Regions from separate parts of the Homo sapiens genome. Here region 1 is linked to region 2. Evidence: promoter capture Hi-C in 16 types of primary human blood cells and fetal thymus (Javierre and others, 2016). All regions are on one chromosome and are shown on one strand. Each heading gives the region's core, a stretch centred on a gene start or on the middle of the fragment in contact. The rest is flanking DNA. Distances are from core to core; before and after follow the strand shown. Region 1 overlaps ATRX (ATRX chromatin remodeler). Region 2 holds the start of ATRX (ATRX chromatin remodeler).

Region 1 (4,760 bases), core at 2,227-4,726, 130 kb after region 2:
GGTGAAACCCCGTCTCTACTAAAAATATAAGAAATTAGCTGGGTTTGGTGGCACGCACCTGTAGTCCCAGCTACTCTGGAGGCTGAGGCAGGAGAATCGCTTGAACCCAGGAGGCGGAGGTTGCAGCAGTGAGCTGAGATTGCGCCATTGCAGTCCAACTTGAGCGGCAGAGCGAGACTCTTTCTCCAAGAAAAATAAAAAAAAAAAAATTTAAGCATATCTGCTCAAACAGTTGACCACTTATATTAAGCAAATGTCAGTACACTGGCAACAAGTATACTATCACATGAGATTAAAATTAATAATTTAGAGTGGGAAGATAACCCAGAAACTTTAGATGACACAAAGAATATTTTTAACCTTTAGATTATAAAGAGAAATAAATATGATTTAATAAATAAAACATTATGTAGAAAGTATAAGATTGCATACAACTGCAGAATTAGTGCTTTCCTGTAGAAGGGTAGAAAATGAAATTAATTTGGGTAAATTTATGCAAGCTTATATGCAGAACTTGACTGGCATATAGTCAGAGTAGATTTCCATTTCATTAAAAGCCTGAGTCCTTTTGCATTGAGGGCTTACATGTTTCCAGCAGTATGGTGGGCATTGAGGATACAAAAATGAATAAAAATGTATCTCAGTGATTCTGATAGGTAACTAGGTTTGGCAGTCACTGGTTTAGTAAGAATTATTGACCTTTGTATTATAAAAAAATTATAGCACCATGAGGGACATTTTGTGTAACGTAATTATATAATGTGGCACAAAGAAGGGCTTCTTTAGCTTCTTGAGGGGTAGGAGTTACCCCAGAGAAGGCTTCACAAAGAAGGCTTTTACCCAACAGATTAAATTCAAAATGTGGGAGCACGTAGATTGTTGTGAAGATTTACAACACAAGCAGGGAAAAAAATTTTAAAACCTGTGTAAAATGTTGGCACATGATGGATGGGATACAATTAATATAGTATAAGCTGCTCTATAGATAGGAGTAGGGAAAGGAACAACAGGGGATGAAGCTGGGCCTGTAAAACAGAGACCAGATACTGGAGATCTTTGTAAGCCTGTGTTTTTCACACTGGAGTACTGGGTGGTATACCAAGGTGTACATCTCTTTGGTGTCTCTATTTATAATTTGAGGTTTGGGGAAGGTCATTTTATGTTAAATAATATATATTGGGTAATTAAATGTGATATTTGCCTGCGAATTTTGGGTAACAAAAAGTTCAAAGAATTTTTTTGTTGTTGCTGTGGTGGGCTTTTTGATGACTAGGGGTAAATTTTGAAGACTGTTGTTAGTACCCAACCCATGGATGGCAGATGAACTCTTCTTTGCCAACTGGGAATAGGAACGCATTTTTGCAAGTGTTTGGGAAATATAATAGGCTCTAAAGGATGCAGAGCCATTGAAAAGTTTTTTTTTTTTTTTCAATTACTGTATTTATTTTTGAACTCTGGACCTCTGGTTATCCACCTACCTCGGCCTCCCAAAGTGCTGGGATTATAGGCGTGAGCCACCGTACCGGCCTTATTTTTAAATTTTTTGTATAACAGCTATATTGAGATATAACTCACAAACCACACAGTTCACCATTTACAGTATACAATTTAGCAGTTTTTAGTATAATCATAGAGGATTACCACCACTTTAAAAAATGTTTTATTTGAAATGTATGTACAAAGAAGTGCACATTATCAATAAGTAGACATCTTGATGAAAACGTAGGGCACCCAGATCAAGGAACAAGATGTTGATTACTAACACCCAAGAATCACAATCTCAGCATGACCACTTTTTTCCCTATTGAAAGATTTTAATCAAAGATATCATATGATCAGATTAGTTCCTTACTATTCAGTGAGAATGAAGGCACTGAATGTTTGGAAGGTATTGCTGTAGTTGATGACAAATGGGGTTGTTGGAGAAGAGGAAGATTGACTTGAGTCTTATAGGAGGTTGAATTGTTAGGTCTTCTTAATTGGTATGAAAGGGAAAAGTCTACAATGAGTGTCAGGTTTTTAGAGTTGTCATGGTGTATGTACAATATCACAGAAATAGTTGAGGTTATTCAGTGGAGTTGTAATGTTTTACAAATGGAAAGCTAAGGACATAGTCTTGGAATCCTAAACATTTATAGGGCTTTTGGGCAAGAGTTATTCACTAAAGATGAGGGGGAGAAGTTCTTGCCACACACATATACAATTAATATGTCATGGACATTTTAATGTTAATAAATAATAGTACATCATTTTGTGACTACTTGTCTTATAAATTTCTTTTTTATTATTATTATTTTTTTATTTTTATTATTTATTTATTTATTTATTTTGAGTCGGAGTCTTGCTTTGTCGCCCAGGCCGGAGTGCAGTGGCGCGATCTCGGCTCACACTGCAAGCTCTGCCTCCCGGGTTCATGCCATTCTCCTGCCTCAGCTTCCCTAGTAGCTGGGACTACAGGCGCCCACCACCATGCCCGGCTAATTTTTTATATTTTTAGTAGAAACAGGGTTTCACCGTGTTAGCCAGGATGGTCTCGATCTCCTGACCTCGTGATCCACCCGCCTCGGCCTCCCAAAAGTGCTGGGATTACAGGCGTGAGCCACTGCGCCCAGCTTGTCTTATAAATTTCTTTGCAATATGGCTGCAAGCTCTTACAGATTCTATAAAGGAACTGTGTGATTTAGCATGTTATATATCACAACATGGATTCCTGTGCCTCTTCAACAAAAGGGGCAATATTGATTTTGCTTCTGAAGCTTAGTTCAATATATAGACCCTTTTAATATATATGATTACATTTGAGATTTGCTTTATTAAAACCTGAGTTTTCTGTGATCTGTGTTTCTACAGCCTGATTCTGTGGGTAATTTATTACCCAAGTGGTTTTGTTGTTGTTGTTTTTTGTTTGTGTAGGAGAGAGTAAACTTCTAAAATCTCATCATATTTGTGTTTCTAATATGGATTGTGATCATAGTGGTTGATATATAGTTGAAGTTGCATGATTTTCTGAGTTTTGTAAATTCTAATGTTCCTATATTATTTGGAAATTTGAATTGAGAGATGGGAAAAAATCAGTAGTGAATAGTCTGCTTATTAAATCTAGTTGAATTAAATTGAAATGCATTGAAGAGGTATAAGAACAAAGTGCAACATGTGAACTCTAATTTTCTCCTAAATTAGAAAAATGTTACAAAATTATTTTAGTGACAATTTGAAATTGTAAATATTGCCTTCATATTAGATGATAGTAATTTTTTTTTCAGATGTGATAATGGTATTTAGTTATGTAGGGCAGTATCCTTATGCTTAGGGGTAAAGTGTCATCCGCGCTTAATATCACATGGTTCAGTGTAAGAAAAGTTGTGTCTGCCTGTGTGTGTGTGTGTGTGTGTGTGTGTGTGTGTGTGTGTGTGTAGAGAGAGAAAGAAAAAAAGCAAATGTGGTAAACTGCTAACAATAAGTGAATTTAGGAGAAGGGATACAAGTGTTCATTCAATAATTCTTTCAAATTTTTGGTAGATTTCAAAAATTTTAAAATGCTGGGTGAACAATTAATACTAGGCTTAAAATTATACTTAATTACAGGATTTTTTTGTGTCAGTGTGTGTGTTTTTGGTATTCTCCCAGCTTTCCAGTTGCTTAGCTATTCTTTTTTTTTATTATTGTGGTAAAATATATGTAACATAAAATTTACCATTTTACCCATTTTTAAGTGTATGATTCAGTGACATTAAGTACATTCACATTTTTATACAACCATAACTTCTGTCTGTCCCTAAAACGTGTCGTCATTCCAAATGGAATCTCTTTAACCATTAAACAATAACTCTTTGTTCCCCTCTCCCCCGACATTTCTTTATAGCATTTATGTTCTCCCATTTATAGCATTTCTGTTAGCATTTATGTTCTCTCATTTTTTAAAAAGCTGGAATAGATCTTTGATTCTGATCTCAGGTTATGATAGATTTTTTTAAAAAATTATTTTGAAACAATTCTTGATTTACAGAAATGTTACACAAATAGTGCAGAGTTCTGTGTATCTTTCACCTAGCTTCCCTGATTTAATACCCTATCATAGTACCATGATCAAAACCAGGAAATTAATATTGGTACAATACTATCAACTAAGCCGGGGGTTTACAAACTGCACCTGTGGGCCAAATCTGATCCTCTGCCTGTTTTTATAAATAAGCTTTTATTGAAACACAGCCATATTCATTAATTTACTGTTTTCACATATGTACAATGGCAAAGTTGAGTAGAGATGAGTAGTTGCAACAGAGACCATACGGTCCACAAGTCAAAAATATTTACTATCAAACTTTTTACATAAAATGTTTTATGACCTCTGAAGTAAACTATAGATCTTATTCAGAGATTAGTTTTCCCACTAATGTTTTCTTTCTGCTCTATGATTCAATCCAGGATCTCACATTGCATCGAGTTATAATGTCTCCTTAATCTACTTCAGCCTGTGACAATTCCTCAGTCTTTACTTTGATGACCTTGACACTTGTGGAGTGTTGATTCCTTATTTTCTCAACTGTTCCTTGATATATATTTGTCTAATGTTTTCTCATGATCGAATTGAGATTATTATGCATTTTGACAGAATACCACAGAAGTGATGTTGTGTCTTCAGTGCATGATATCAAGAATAGATGATGTCAGTATGTCTTTTTTTTTGAGAGAAGACCTCGCTCTGTTGCCCAGGCTGGAGTACAGTGGTGCGATCATGGCTCACTGCAGACTCAACCTCC
Region 2 (5,063 bases), core at 1,071-3,570:
CTGTTTAGTGTTGAGAAGTCTCTCAGCAACAGCTAGTTTCTACCTTAATAATTTCAATTCATTTAAAAATAATGTGAGGCAGGAGAATAGGGTTTGGAGGCAGGGAACCTAAGGCTGAGTAAAGTTGACTTCCTAGAACTGAATCAAAAGGAAAACCCCAACTTTCCACACCTAAGTAACAAAAAGACTACTCCCTTTGCAAATCCTCTTCCTTTTCCGCTTGGCAGATGGAAAACTGAAAGTATCTCTGATTGGTTGCAGAAAGCAGATGTTTGTATAGCAGTGTAACTTTGTAACTTCACTTTAGCCTCTGATTGGTTGCTGTCCACAACCAATTAGATGCTTGCATAGGGTGTGACCCTTGTAACTTCACTTTAGCCTCTGATTGCGGGCCACTACTTTATTTACATAGGGTGTACACCAAGTAACCAATGGAAAACCTCTAGAGAGTATTTAAATCCCAGAAAATTCTGTAATGGGGGTCTTGAGCCCCTGTGCTCTGGCAGCTCCTGCAGTCTTGTGGAGTGTACTTTCATTTTCAACGTGTCTCTGCTTTTGTTGCTTCATTCTTTCCTTGCTTTGTGCATTTTGTCCAATTCCTTGTTCGAAACGCCAATAACCTGGTAACATGTTGACTATTTACTATTTTTCTCATAGTGAAGTCAGTTGAACAGCAAGCACATTTCTGTGCTGCCTTGTGATGGAGTACATCATTCAAATTCACTGCATTTACCAAGGAGAAAAAAATGACTCCTGTAAATTGTATGTTGAAATGATATTTAATGTGTACAAGACAAAATCAGTATAGCAGGTACAGAGGTCTGGTTTCTATAATTGCCAACTGAACTCAAACATTTGAAAGATATAATTGCAATGTGTACAGGCGTCTGTTGATTAAAAAGTTGCCTGAGGCCAGGCGCGGTGGCTCACCCCTGTAACTCCAGCACTTTGGGAGGTCGAGGTTGGAGGATGGCTTGAGCTTAGATGTTTGAGACCAGCCTGGGCAACAGACAGACCTACCTCATCTATACCAATACATAAATACATAATTAGCTGGGCTTGATGGCACGCGCCTGCAGTCCCAGCTGCTTGAGAGGCTGAGGTGGGAGGATTGCTTGAGCCTAGGAGGTCGAGGCTGCAGTGAACTGCGTCACGCCACTGCACTCCAGCCTGGGTGACAGAGCTAGACCCTGTCTCAGAAAAAAAAAAAAAAAAAGTTGCCTGAGCCTATCAGATTTTCAAAGTGTTTCATTCAAAAAAGGCTCCCCTCTTGCTATCCCAGTAGAAAGCAGCAACCCTGTCACCTAACCCCGACAGGAGCTCTTGCATATTTCAAGAAAAATAAATAGAATGAACTAAAGCATGCATGGCAGAATAAATTTGGAAATAAATTTCGAAGCGATTAGATTTTAGAGGACTTGTTTGTGATTAGCAGAGATTACCAATGTAAAATCAAATTATAGATCATAAAAGCGGGAAAGGCATTTACAGATCATCCAGCCAAGCTTCCTCTGTAATGAGAAGGAAGCAGATCTAAATTGATTGGTTTGTGAGCTAAACATCACATCAAATTGGGGAAATGGCCCGTGTGTGTGTGTGTGTGTGTGTGTGTGTGTGTGTGTGTGTGTGTATTCTAAGAGACACTTTATTCAATATGGAAAGAATTTTATGCAGCGTTCAAGTTGGTCTTATGTCGTCTGCACACATATACATATATATAAGTATATTATACACATATACATTTCCAAGCATGTTGGTGTGCCAAATATTATGTATAAAACATCTAGGAAAGCAAATAACTTGATGATAGCCTAGCATATAGGAAAGAAAATACTTACATAGGATGGCCATACAGATTAGTGGTTAAGAGTGTCTGGTGAATCTCGGCTCCACTACTGTGGGACTTTGTGTCTTGGTTTCCTCATCTGGAAAATGTAGGTTTGTCTACCTCAGAGAGTGTAAAGATTAAATGAGATAACCCGGATAAAGGATTAGTGTAGTGCCGAGCATATAGTAAACTCTCAATAAATGTAGGTTGCTGTTATTACTTCGTTAATATGTCAAAGAAAAAAGAGGTTGGACCAAAAGAGCATTTTCAAAATAAAGTCAAACTATGTCACTAGCACTTTCAGGTCAATTGGGACTAAATTGGACCCCCTGCGAAAAGGTGGAGGGGATCAAATGACGTCGACCGCCTTAGCAACAGGCCCCCAAAGAAGGTGAATTTCCGTAGCCAATAAGACTCTGTGCTTTGGAGGAGGTAGCCAATGGCTGACGGAAAGAGAAAGAGGGAGGACGCGCCAATTCTCCTGCCTGAGCCTCGGCCCAACAAAATGGCGGCGGCAGCGGTGTCGCTTTGTTTCCGCGGCTCCTGCGGCGGTGGCAGTGGTAGCGGCCTTTGAGCTGTGGGGAGGTTCCAGCAGCAGCTACAGTGACGACTAAGACTCCAGTGCATTTCTATCGTAACCGGGCGCGGGGGAGCGCAGATCGGCGCCCAGCAATCACAGAAGCCGACAAGGCGTTCAAGCGAAAACATGACCGCTGAGCCCATGAGGTAAAACGCAACCCCGTCTCATGGGCCCCAGCGGTCTGGGCCCAGGCACCGTCTGAGTCGGGTGTTTGGGAAGGCGTTCGCTTGGTGGGTTAGGCCTGTGTGTTGCTTAGCCGAAAGAGGCATCGTTTTCTCTTTAGGTGAGAAGGGTTTCGGGGTATCGGCGCAAGGCTCCGACGGGGGTGGGGGTGGGGATGGGGTGGGGGGAGGTGGGGGGGGCGCGGCCTAGGGTATGGGGCGCTTCTTGCAATCTCCCCTAAACGGTGACGCTTGGTCGGGCTCCTCTGTTTATTCTTTGGTGCCTGTGGGATTGAGACCTCGAAGTCGGAGGCGGTCTTTGGTATCCCGGTCATTTTTGCTAATCTTTGGGCCTAGAAACTGCGTGGGGAAGAAGCGGGGGGAGGGTGAGAAGAGGGGGAGGGGTGGGCGGGCGCGAGGATGTGAGATCCCAGGACGACTTAGAGGCGTTTAGGTTGCTGGAGATGGGAAGCACCCGGGCCCTGCGGGATTTTTTTTCTGCAGCCCCAGGAGACAAGCCTTTTTTTGATTGGGTTGTGGTGCAGTTCCAGGTATTTAGGTATCTTTTCTACTCCATATCCTGAAGGATATCCTTGGGTTTATTTCTAGGCGAGGGGGGACTTAACACAGGGTTTTGCTTCCAGAGGACCCTAGTATACTACTTTTTGTGATGTCCAGCCTTAATGGGACCTCAAGTGTTTCCCCACTTTCTGGGCAAATTTCGAGGAGTAATTAGGCCCTATCTTTATTTACTTATTTATTCCATGAAGGATGAAGGGCAGGTTAACGTGGGCTGATGCGAAGTAAGATTTATTGCAAGGGAAAATGCCTGGCAGGCCTCCTCTTAACCAATCAAGCACGTTTATTAGGTTGAAGCTGTTTTTCTGTGTGCTTCTGATTTGCCTCTTGACGGGTCTGAAAATTTGGGTAGTCAATATGAAATGTATACACTTTTACCCAGGTGGCTGGCTGGCGTTTCAGTTTGACATTTGAATTTTCATCCCACAATGTGAATTAAGTAATTTTTTTACTCGGAGATGCATCCTTGGCGTCCAGTGGCAAAATAAAATTACAAGGAGCATGGGTCAGAATTGCATTTCAAGTTGGCGAAATGTGCCTTTGAGTAACTCTTAGATTGGCATATGTTTTTAGAGCAATTTAGCTAGAATGTAGAATTGGGCAATGAGCCTATGATACGTATGTCTGTATTTCTGCATGAACAAGCAGTAGATTATATTTTCTTTACCTTGGGGAAAGATATGCTTCAGTTCTTAGATTGTAGATCTCTAGTTGTGTACACGATTGTGGCCTTGGTTTCTGAATTTGTCAGTAGGCTCAAATACAACAAATCTTTATCTGTGGGGTATTAGGCACGTAAGTGGTACCCAGTATAACTTGTTGGCCTGTAATTACCAGGCACTCATGTTCATATGCATGGATGGTGTACCTTACAGTTAAATTATGACCTCTAGATTTTACTAAGTTTCACAAAGTCTACATTTGAAACTATAGTTTGAAGTCGGATCTTCTCAGTTTCTTTAGAATGAACAAATTACGTATATAGAATTTCTGAATAGAATAATTAATTTTACACAAGGGTCAGTTTTTCTTACTAGTCTTGGATTTTTGTAGATCTTGATGATAAGAGTAATAATCATAACTAAGTTGAGTGCTTATTGTCGTTCTTTATAATCTTGATGAATTCTCAAACCTGTGAGGTAAGTACTTGGTTTTGCCCATTTTACCGATGAGGAGGAAAGTGAGACATAGATCAAGAACTTGACCGAAGTTATACAGCTTGTAATTGGTGGAGCTGGAATTGAACCCCATCTTGACTTCACAGCTTATGTTCTTAACCACAAGGCATTAATGCCCCCTTCAGCTGCCAGGTCTAACCTGATTATGACCATTTAAATTTAGCCCAAGTGTTACAATGAAAGAAGTTCATATTACCTACTCTGATTTGTTGCAGGTCTATGATTTTGTAGCTGTTTATAATGTTACATTTTTTGTGTCCAGGTGTACTATGTAGTGAGATAACTGAAATATTTAATGCTAGGAGAGTCTTAAGCTACATGAAAAACCTCTAGTAAAGAACTGCATATATGCATGTAGGGAATTAATTAAAAAGTGTGACACTCCCTGATGATTTACTATGAAAGAGCTCCAAGTAGGTGTTCAGAACTGTCTCAGGCTGAAGTGTCATCGATCTCCTAAACCATAATCATGGTTAAAGGAGAATCTGACAGGTAATGCTTGAGTTGAACCCACAGTACCAAATCCCTCTTGAGTCTTTTCTAATGTGAGGCAGAAATAATATAAGCATTATTGTTAATATTATTTTACACAGTAGTTCCAGATTTTCTCTTTATCAAATATTTTGTCAAGCACTTAAAAAGCAGGAACAAAGACTAGTTCTAATTTTTACTTGTGTTTATAAAAAAAAGTAATATTCTAGGATTCTGTGGTGGAAAAATGGCCAGAAGACAAGAGG

Evidence for each region. Contacts are between HindIII fragments. The CHiCAGO score rates a contact against its expected background, and 5 or more counts as called.
Region 1: a contact is called between a fragment that was not itself captured here and the fragment with the promoter of ATRX in region 2, in 3 of 17 cell types (total CD4 T cells, non-activated CD4 T cells and activated CD4 T cells). The highest score is 6.0, in total CD4 T cells.

What each region holds. Positions count from the first base shown.
Region 1 is chrX:77,658,137-77,662,896 of GRCh38, reverse strand. All of the region lies in intron 12 of ATRX (ATRX chromatin remodeler), which reads left to right. Among named protein-coding and RNA genes, the nearest start is that of ATRX, 130 kb to the left of the region's middle. The HindIII fragment of the contact is 1,436 bases long and covers 2,759-4,194 here.
Region 2 is chrX:77,783,473-77,788,535 of GRCh38, reverse strand. It overlaps ATRX (ATRX chromatin remodeler), which reads left to right and starts at 2,320. Exons shown (of 35, transcript NM_000489.6): 1 at 2,320-2,554. The coding sequence starts at 2,535. RefSeq lists enhancers at 2,247-2,436, 2,447-2,556 and a silencer at 2,657-2,706. The HindIII fragment of the contact is 7,766 bases long and covers 1,508-5,063 here.